Linked DNA regions of Homo sapiens: region 2 is linked to region 1. Evidence: promoter capture Hi-C in 16 types of primary human blood cells and fetal thymus (Javierre and others, 2016). All regions are on one chromosome and are shown on one strand. The core of a region is centred on a gene start or on the middle of the fragment in contact, and the rest is flanking DNA. Distances in the headings are between cores, read along the strand shown. Region 1 holds the start of TRPM8 (transient receptor potential cation channel subfamily M member 8). Region 2 has its middle 170 kb from the start of SH3BP4.

Region 1 (5,279 bases), core at 552-3,051:
AAAAAAGGCTTCTGGCATGTTTTATAAGTTGCTTTTTAGCTCACCTATCACCATGGTCAAATCAGTCCTAAAGTGTCATTTTCAATCAGGATTGTCTAGTTCTAAGTCTCTTTCTGATTAAAAAAAAAATGGGGTGGGGGGAGAAACAAGATGTTTTCCTTTGCACACTGAATGAGAGAGGAAAAACTTGTTCATACTCTAAGGAAAATGCTCCAAAGGGCCCCACACCAAACCCCAGCCATCTCCACTCTTTGAGCCATCAATTATTCATGAAAATGGTGAGTATAACACTTGCAGAAGCTTCAAATATAAATGACACCATCCAGAGAGATCTCCTCCACTCTTATTTTGGCAGGGGCATGGCAGGGGTGCATACAAGGGTTACAATACCTGAAAAGGTCACTAGGCATCTGTGCCTCCATGTCTCAGTCACCACCAGGAGAGAGCTGAGATTTATTTTGTTGTAGGCATTATCCTGTTTTTCTAATTGCCTCTATCAGCCAAATTTTTTTCAGTTTGAATAGATGGATGAAAACTAGGAAAATAGCAAAAGCCAGTGGAGGCTCCCGAAGTCATTGACCCCAAGGTATCCTGCTCCAAAAAGTAGAAGTGAGAAACAGGAGGTAGATACAGGCAGCAGGTGATGCTCCAAGATGCTATTTGCTGAGACCCTCTTAGAATAAGAGGAAAAGCAGGGGTCCCTATGCAGCCTGGACCCCTACTGTCTTCACAGGTGCCAAGAATGATATCAGTTCTTAGGCAAAACAAAGATAGTGATAATTATTATTATAAATTGTAATGTAATTATAATTTATAATGTAATTATATTATTTCTATAACAATTATATTATTTGTAATATAATTATAAATATCTTATTAATAAATAATAATAAACAGCTTTTTTCCAAATTATAAATAAATATGCATCCAAAGTCACAACCTTGGAAGTAAGTCCTTTGCACTGTCAAGATTTTGACAAGCTAAAACTTCTCTCATGATCAGTATCTTTGTATTAGCACATATAGAATAGTCTTAAGGAATAACCATTTCCTTATGTTCAGCTCAAGAATCCTAACACTGAAAAAGTCAGCACTGGCAATAATGGATTGAAAATTAAATGGAAATAAAACCTTTAATTATTCATCCAGCCCTTCAGTGTTTCTCTCTTGCTTATAAATAATACAAATGATGAGCCTGTTTCAACAGGCTGGAAGAACGGAAGGAAACACAGTATGTAAAAACAAGCTAAATATACCCGCTCCTTTCATTATCAAAGAATATTTACTATTTGAATGCATTATTTCTTGATGTTAATTTACATTTCACCATAGTCTTGATTCAAGAAAAAACTTGTTTTATTATGTTCCCAATAGGATTGCTTCAGATAGTCAGTTGCAGAGTTCAGATGCCAGTGAATTTTTCATTAAAGCTCATTTAGGGAGTTTCTAACTCCTTCAATCAGAAACAGAAAACTGTAATTATATTTAAAGTCATTCAAAAATTCAGCAAATAATTCTACATTTCTAAATAAATCTAAGTGAGGATTAGATATATCTGTGAACCCGCATTTGCTTATGCCCACAACACTTTGAGGAATTTAAATTTTTGTCTTCCTTTAGTTTCAAATCTTCATAGAAAAACTAAATGATGCCCCTCCCAGAGACACAAACTCGTACTATTCTACAAGTTACAGCAATGGCAACATTTAAGGAGAAGCAAAAAGCAAAAGTTGATGACATACCCTAAGTGACGGTTTTTGTCAAGCAGGATTTTCTTTCACCCAAGGATCCTGCTGGTCTCTCCCCACAGGAGGAGGAAAGCTTTTATAACTGGAATCTTCTTAGCCCCGCCTTCTTCTCTGAGGTTCTTTTAAGCAGAGGAACAAAAAACTTAAGCCGCTGAAATTGCAAGAAGACTCCTAAAGCCTCCAAGCATAGCAGCAATTTAGCAGTGGAATACGAGTAGGGAATGGATAATTAGTGAACATGGTATTTTAAATGCTAATAAAGAAATGATACCAAATTCCTGCTCTTAGCTTGACAATAACACCATAGTATGAAATCATACTAATACTTAATTTCTGCAATTAATGGCACATTTTAAAAACCACAAATAAAATGGGAAATGCTCATTATAGAAAGTGATGACAAGATTAATTAATAAATTAAAAGCTCTTAATTAAGATTAGGAAAAAAATTATTAAATAGAGGAAATTTAACCAACATTGCTTTTTTGCAGATTTTGTGAACTTTCCTCATACCAACTAAATGCAGTATTGGGCCAGGCAAGAGGGCATCATGGAGGTGAGCAAATCCAGCTTCATTAATTTACAGCTATTTCCTGTCCCCTTTAAACTACACTTTGGAAGAGCTCTCCTCGAAGAAATAAGTAACAATTGTCAGTGGGCAACTTTCGGTCATTTTACTTAAATCACGTGCCACAAACATAACAGTTATATTATAACTAATGTTCCTCTGTTTTGGCCATTATTTCTATTTTATTTTCATATGAAGCATATGTCATAGAGAAATACAAATAGGATAGTGTATTTCAGGAACTGATTGCACAAGACATACACTTGCAAAAAGGTTAGAGATGAAAGAGAAGGAGTGTGAAGGGGTTTTTTGCAAAGGCAGAGAGATTTGAGCAAGGTCTGAAAGGAAGGATAGGGTTGTAGTGATAACTCCTGCAGAAAGCATGTTCAATTCAAGAAGAAAACCCCCTTAACAAAGAGAGACAAAAGACTCCAGACAGAGGTCTCAAACTCAAATATTCCAAGGCTCAGACAGGTCATAAAGATGAAGGGAGCAGCCAAGTGTTAGGTAGTAAGTAGGGAAGGGTGGGGGCTGTGGAAAACTGGAAATGATAGATTTGAATGAGGACCCGTGAGAGAAGAGATCCAGCTAGAAATAGAGAGAGAGAATCAGAGAAATCTCAGAATTACTCTAAATATGGGTCCTAGGACTAAAAACTCCCATACCCAGCATGGTCCCCAAGCACATATATAGCACTGCACAGGGGAGCAAGTCCATCTGAGGAGCGGAGCAGCAAAATGAGCTTTTTAGCTGTTAGAAATATTGAGCCAGCTGGGTGCAGTGGCTCATGCCTGTAATCCCAGCACTTTGGGAGGCTGAGGCGGGCCGATTGCTTGATGTCAGGGGTTCAAGACCAGCCTGGGCAACATGGCAAAACCCTGTCTCTACTAAAAATACAAAAATTAGCCAGGTGTGGTGGCACGTGCCTGTAATCCCAGCTACTCAGGAGGCTGAGACATGAGAATCCCTTGAACCTGGGAGGTGGAGGTTGCAGTGAGCCGAGATCATGCCACTGCACTCCAACCTGGGTGACAGAGTGAGATTCTGTCTCAAGAAAAGAGAGAGAGAGAGAGAGAGAGAGAGAGAGAGAGAGAGAGAAATATTGAGCCAATTAATTAAGCTCATGTGGACTTCTCTCATTCATTTTCTGGTTATTAAGCAAGTCTTTTGTTCTATCTCAATTTTCATTGTAAATCCAAACTTGTTTTATCCACAGCAGATAATGTATGATCTGGCCTGAACAAGTTGTATTCAAATATCTTTAGCAAGTCCTTAAAATCATACGTGAATGGATCCTTGCTGTAAGTAAGCATCCTCATGAAATGGGAGCGAGAGAGATGGAGATAGAGAGATATAAGTAGAGGTGTACATATATAATGTAAATATTTACCATTTCATCCAAGACGCAACAAAATGCCCAATTCATCTAGCAAGATAGATAGAAATTGTTTTGGTTTTTTTTTTAAGATGCTGGATTGTTGAACTATCTTTTAATGCCAGAAGGTGGCTGCCCTGAGCAACCTCAGTCACACACAGACGTTTTTCAGCCACTTACTCCTCAAAGCAGGTTTCAAAGGTGAATTAACAGCACTGTCCCTGCTTGTCCCTGAACACCTTCCTCCCCCACTAAGATAAGCAGAGCCATTCTGCATACTTCCAGCTAGATATGCAGACTCAGACTCTCAGCTTGGCTTCCCTATTTTTTGTGCCATGAGAAAACATTAAAACTGAACAAACTGTAGGTGGATGATGATGATGGTTACAGAGCAATGTGAATGCATTGATGCCACTGACTCTGCACTGCACTCTCTGGCTGAGTTTGCTGTACTGGAGCTGGTGGAAGGGACAAGGCTCTCTGGTCAGTGTGGAAGGCCTCCCACCCCAGGCATTCCATGAAGAGTCTTCCCCCATGAAGAGTCCTGTGGAGGCTGCACCGCAGCCACCCATGAGCCTGCCTCCCTCTCTTGACTGTATGCAGGAAGCTGGAGTTCTGGTTGGGTCCTGATCTTACCTTCTTGGCAGGAGCTCAGGCCTCCCCCTGAGGCCTTGATGAGGAGAGAAGCCTCAGGTACTAGTTGAGGGTCCAGGGGCCACTGGCTCACACTGCAAAGAAGAGGCTGCTTCCTACTACTAGAAAAAGGAGGACCGGCAGGGCTCATTCTGCTCCTCTCACTAAATCTTAGCCCTAGCCAAGTGTAGAAGAGAATTTGACACACTGGTAGCAACTGATGGAGGTGGGCACATACTCCCAAGTTAGAACTCTGGTCACTCAAGGACATCAGGTGTCTTTTACAATAAGCCTTGTACAGGAGGCACAGACACTCCCTGACACTAACTCCTGAGAAGAGCAGATTGCAGCTGATGAACACACAACTGGGAGGCACATCAAGTCATACATCCTTCCTCCCATTGTGCAAAGGGTGCAGTGGGTGCTACCCATAACCCTGTCTCTTGGCCTCTCCTGGTAAGAGACACAAGATCTCACCTTTTCCAGGAGAATTAACAACTTACCCTTTACTTCTGCAGGCTCCACGTCTTCTGTCCACCTGCATCCTCCAACCATCCAGCCACTGTTTTATAAACTTTAATATAGGTGTAGGTCATCAGGAAGAAGAAAGGTTACCATGGCACCAGAGGCGCAAATATGCAATGAATCTGTTGCCAAGACCCTGGTCCTTCCCAGTGAGTGTATTCAGCCTAACACCATGGGCTGACCACGCCAGCTCCTGGCATATCGAATGCTAAGAAAGCTCTGAGGGCAGTAAGTATAGGGCATCTGCTCCACCACAGTGGACTGGCTGAGGAAGCCTGCACACAGTGCTAGAACATTGCTTTCATGAGCAACACAGGCAGGTCCCAAAGCATAGCCATGGCCCAGGAGGAGGCTTGTGGCACCTCATCCACACAAAGCCCTTGAGTTCTCCAGTACATGTGCACAGCCCTTGTATCCAGCCTCTGAGCTAC
Region 2 (5,524 bases), core at 2,913-5,412, 1.2 Mb before region 1:
TTAATCTAAGAGTCAAAACATAAAGACTTTCAGAAGAAAGCATAAGAGAAAATCTTAGCAATGTTGGGTTTCCCAAGGATTTAAAAAGTAGGATTTAAAAATAAAAACTACTAATTCCAAAAGAAAAGAATCAGCCAACTGGACCTCATCAAAATGAAAAACTTTGCTCTTCAAAAGACAGTGTTACAAAAATGAAAAGACAAGCCACAGACTGGAAGAAAACATCTGTAAATCATGGACGTAATCGAAGTCATACACAAAGGACTTGTGTATGGAGAGTACAGAAAGACTCAAAAATACAATTGAAAAAGAAAAACAACATGATACAAAATTGACCAGACACTTCACCAAAGAGCATATACAGATGGCAAATAAGCATACACAAAGTTACTCATGAATCATTAAGGAAATGAAAATTAAAACCACAAGGTACCACGACACAAGTATTAGAATGTCATCGATATAGATAGATAGATATAGATAGATAGATAGATAGATAGATGATAGATAAATGACAATACCAAGTGTTGGTAAAGATGCAAAGTAACTGGAACTTTCATGCACTATTGATGGGAATGTAAAGTGGCTCAACCACGTCGAAACAGTATAGCAATTTCTTAAATATTAACTATCCACTTACCATACTGACTTTTACCATACATGGCTTTTATCCATGAAAACTGGAAACACATCCATACAAAGACTTATGCACAAAGTACAAGTATTATTACTTATACTGTTATAAATTTAAAATTATAAATATGTTATAAATTATTATTGTTTATACTAATCCAAAACTTGAAATAACCCAAATGTCCAACAAAAAGAAGTAAATGGATAAAATCGTGGCCTATGTACGCAAGGCAACACCACTCAATAACACAAAAGAATGAGTTAACACACAACATGGATAAAATTCAAAATAATTATGCTGAAGGAAAGAAGCCAGACCAAAAACAATATATTCTTGTGCTTCCACTTATATACAATTCCAGAAAATTCAAACTAATTTATAGAGACAAAAAAATGCGTAATTTCTGGGACTGGAAATGAGTGAGAGAAAGAGATGGATTATAGGGTCTTGAGTAAATTTTGGGGAGTGATGGATAGGTTCATTATCTTCACTGTGGTGATCTTTTGTGGGTGTATATGTATTTTAAAACTTATCAAATTGTATATTAAATAGATGTAATTTATTGTATATCAATTATATCTCAATAAACCTACTTAAAAAAAGAAGAAAACAAGGCGGGGAATCCCTTTGGACCCAGGCAAGTAAGCGGTTCTTTAAAAAGTCAAAGTAGTACAATTATAAGGGGGGAAATTATTATTTGATTATATCAAAATTAAAGATTTCTGTTCTGTAAAGTACCACATAGATAATAACAACAGACAGATGAGTGATTGGTTAACGATATTTGCAACATCTATGACTAACAATGAATCAATGCCATGAAATTACAATCTTGTTTCTTCTGTAAATAAACAAGAAGACCAGAAGCCCTATAGAAAAACAGGCAAATATGAACAAATAATACATAGAGAGGAAATGCTAATAGCTAGCAAGAATATGAAAATGATGTTCAAGATTGTACTACCCAGGGAAATTAAGATATCACTTTAATCTCATCACTATGACAAAGTAGAATAATATCTATATTTGCCAGAAAAAAGAGAAGCATGGGAGGACTCCTCATAAAAGAGATTGTTGCAGCCATTCTGAAGAGCAATCTTCCAGGATTTGCGAAATTGCACGCGCGCGCGCGCACACACACACACACACACACACACTGTTACTTCACAATCACACTGGCAAATACGTATCCCAAAGTGATTCTCACACAGGTCCGTGTGGAGACAAGTAGAAGGATGTCCTTCGCAGTAATTTGGGGATAGTTGGAGGCAACCTAGGTGTTCATCGCTAGGGGAATAGATAAGAAAATGAAGTTGAGGCAGGTGAAGAAATAGCTGCCAGGCTTTGTGACAATACACCAGATATTGCAACAGTAACATAGGGAGATCTTAAGAGATATAATGAAAAGATAAGGAACCATTTAATGTAAAGCAAGGAACTATGTCGTTTACACTTTATGTGAATTAACTTCACCACCACTCCCCACCCCGCCCCCTGCCAACACACACACATTCACAAACTTATTTTCCAAAGACACATATCAAACCCTCTAGGGCAGCTCCATCTGAAGAAAGAACTAAGGAGGAGAGAATTGGAGAATGTGGAGGCGGGAAAAAAATGAATGTATTAAAAGCCAAGAGGGAGTCTTGTACAAATCATGGTGATGTTGTACCTTGAACTGAAGAGAATAACTAATTTAAATCTCTGCAACTGAAGTGCCAAAAAGAAAAGTAAAACAGAAAAGTATCTGTATGTTCTTAGCTTACAAAATCTTTGTTTTTATCAAGAATGGATCTGGCCCCCCCTCCGAAATCTCTTATTTCATTTGTTCCTTTTATCTACTTGATTAAATTTATTAAGAGAATAATTGTGTTTCACTGTATGACAATACCATAATTTATATATTCATTCTACTATTCAAGGATATTTGCATTGTTTTGCATTTTTAGCTTTACATTTAATGTTGCTATGAATGCTTTTGCGCATATATTTTGGTATATTTGTGCATGGGCCATAAAATATGTGTATATTCAATTTTAATAAATAATACTAAATAGATTTCCAAAGTGCTTATATCAATTTACTTACACTGCCACTAATAGTGCACATGAATTACTCCACATCCTCATCAACACTTAATGAAGTCAGTCTTTTAATTTCAGCTCATCTAGAATGTATTTAAGAATTTAGCTAATAAAATGGTAGTCTCTTACTGTGTTTTAAATTTGTATTTCTCTGGTAGCTAATGAAGTCGAAGTTCTTCTTAGATTCTTTTGGAAAGTTCCTGATCAAATTTTTTACACATTTTCCTTTTCATTGATCTTGAATATAAGCCTTTGGTCAAGTACATGGTTCACAAATATAAACATTTATATTTGTTGGTATTGCATTTTTATTCTTTTAAAGGTCTATTTTGGTAAACAGAAATGCTTAATGTCAATCATCAATTTATGTTTAATTTATCAATTATGTTCATTAGGTTTAGTGTCTTTTTAAAAATCTATTTCAGAAATCGGTTCTTACATCAAAGTCATGAAGATATTCTCCATCTTTAGTATTTCTTTTAGTGCAAGTCTACTGGATACAAATTTTCTCAGCTTTCATTTGTCAAAAATTCCTTATTTTGCTTTATTTTCATTAATATTTTCAATGTTTATAAAATTTTAGTTTGGCTGATACCTAGCCCTTTAAAGATGTCATTCCACTTGCTCCCATGAGTATGTTGTACAGTCAGCTGTAAGCTTTATTCTTGATCCTTTGAAAGTAAAGTATTCCCACTATTCCCGCCTGCTTTTAAGATTTTCATTTTGTCTTTGGTTTTCAGCAGCTTGACTAAGATGTGCCTATTCTAGTTATCTTGGGGTTTGCATAGACTCTTGAACCTGTGGGTTGTTGTCTTTCATTATATTTTAAAACATATACTTAGCCATTCTGTCTTCAAATATTATTTATGCTCTTTTCCCTCTTCTCCTTTGGGGACACAATATTCTGTATATGTACACAATATTCTGTACTGTTCATTCCATTATTTTTCTCTCTTTGCTTCAGTTTGAATAAATTCTATTCCTCCCCATCTTCTGTTATGTCCAGTGTACTGTTAAATTCATCTAATGAATTCTTCATTTCAAATATTGTATTTTTCAGTTCTAGACCGCCCAGTTGCTTTGTTCATATATATTCAATTATGTTGAAATTCTCTATATTTTCTCTTGTTTTTCCATGCCATCCTTTATTTTCTTGAATGGCTAATCAATTTTTAAAATTTCTCTTTGATAACTCCAATATCTAAATCACCTGTGAGACTATATATAATGTTTACATTTTTCTTAACGTTTGTTTCTCTTGGTCCTGTCTTTTTTACCATAACCTTTAATTTTTATATTTTATTTTGCTCATTGTAGATAAAAATTGTAGAGGCTCCGATAATGATGTTTTTCTTCAAAGAAAGTTTTTTTCTTCCTGTCAGGCAGTTCTCTATCAGTGAATCACCTTGGGTCCCATGGAGGCTTGATTTTCAGCTTTGTTAGAGGTGGTCTCTATTCCTCATGCAACGATTTAAAAAAATTCCCACAGGGAAAACAACCAGGGTTAATGTAGACATTATCTTGTGTGAGCACTATTCGCAATAGCAAAGACCTGGAACCAACCCAAATGTCCAACAATGATAGACTGGATTAAGAAAGTGTGGCACATACACACCATGGAATACTATGCAGCCATAAAAAATGATGAGTTCATGTCCTTTGTAGGGACATGGATGAAGCTGGAAACTATCATTATCAGCAAACTATTGCAAGGACAAAAAACCAAACATCGCATGTTCTCACTCATAGGTGGGAATTGAACAATGAGAACACATGGACACAGGAAGGGGAACATCACACACCGGGGCCTGTTGTGGAGTGGGGGGAGGGGGGAGGGATAGCATTAGGAGATATACCTAATGTAAATGACAAGTTAATGGGTGCAGCACACCAACATGGCACATGTATACATATGTAACAAACCTGCACGTTGTGCACATGTACCCTAGAACTTAAAGTATAATAAAAAAAAGAGAGAAAAAAAAAGAATACCAGAAAAGAAAAAAAAGAAATTATCTTGTGTGCTTCCCTTCTCTCACTCTCACAATTGTGCCTTTCAGTACTGTCTACATTAGTTGCTGCCCACTGCTTCACACAGTCATTTTGTACATTTTATTCAGCTTTTATAGGATTTTTTCTTGGCATGAAAGTTAGTCCAATTTAAGTCACTCCATTATGTCTGAAAGCAGACACTTGATTTGTCTCAATTAGAGATATTTTACAAAGCTTTTATGGCCTCACTTTTTACATGCCTGATTGGAATATAGAATGTTGGCGTTGTGAGTATGTGCGTGTGTATTTGTATATACACATACTTCTACTGCTTTCATGCTTCTGTTAATTACTCCTTGTATTTCAGTTTTTGCTTTATGTATTTTTAAAGCTGTAGATGGCACTTTCTATAAATTTAAATGTCCAATTTTGTCTCAAGTATTTTTTCTAGCCATTGCTGTCATAAAATTTCTTTCTCTCGCTAGTAGTTTGGTAGCCTGGAAAAAATAGGAGTGGAGAAACTCCAGAGACCATAATAGCAGGGAGAGTTACCACCTTACCACTTTGTTTCTTATCGTCTTTGCCAAACCATCCAAACATTTATCTGTTTTGTTCACCGTTGCCTGTCATGCTTTCCATATAGAATAAACTTTTAATGTTATTTAATTGTAACTTCTCTTTTAATCAGCAGTCTATTGTGGTTTTGTATTCTAATAGAAGATGGAAGCCTTTGCCTTTTAATAAATAGCACTTATTACGTGTCAGATTTTATGCTTTTTTTTTCAGTCACCTTGATATTTCTTTTTTGTTATTC

What was found. The method cuts DNA at HindIII sites, captures the fragments that hold promoters and counts their contacts. A CHiCAGO score of 5 or more calls a contact.
Region 2: a fragment that was not itself captured here is called in contact with the fragment with the promoter of TRPM8 in region 1 in 1 of 17 cell types (M1 macrophages); the score reaches 5.1 in M1 macrophages.

Annotation. Positions count from the first base shown.
Region 1 is chr2:233,913,895-233,919,173 of GRCh38, reverse strand. It overlaps TRPM8 (transient receptor potential cation channel subfamily M member 8), which reads right to left and starts at 1,801. Exons shown (of 26, transcript NM_024080.5): 1 at 1,742-1,801. The HindIII fragment of the contact is 1,520 bases long and covers 303-1,822 here.
Region 2 is chr2:235,117,841-235,123,364 of GRCh38, reverse strand. No RefSeq gene overlaps it. Among named protein-coding and RNA genes, the nearest start is that of SH3BP4, 170 kb to the right of the region's middle. The HindIII fragment of the contact is 1,569 bases long and covers 3,378-4,946 here.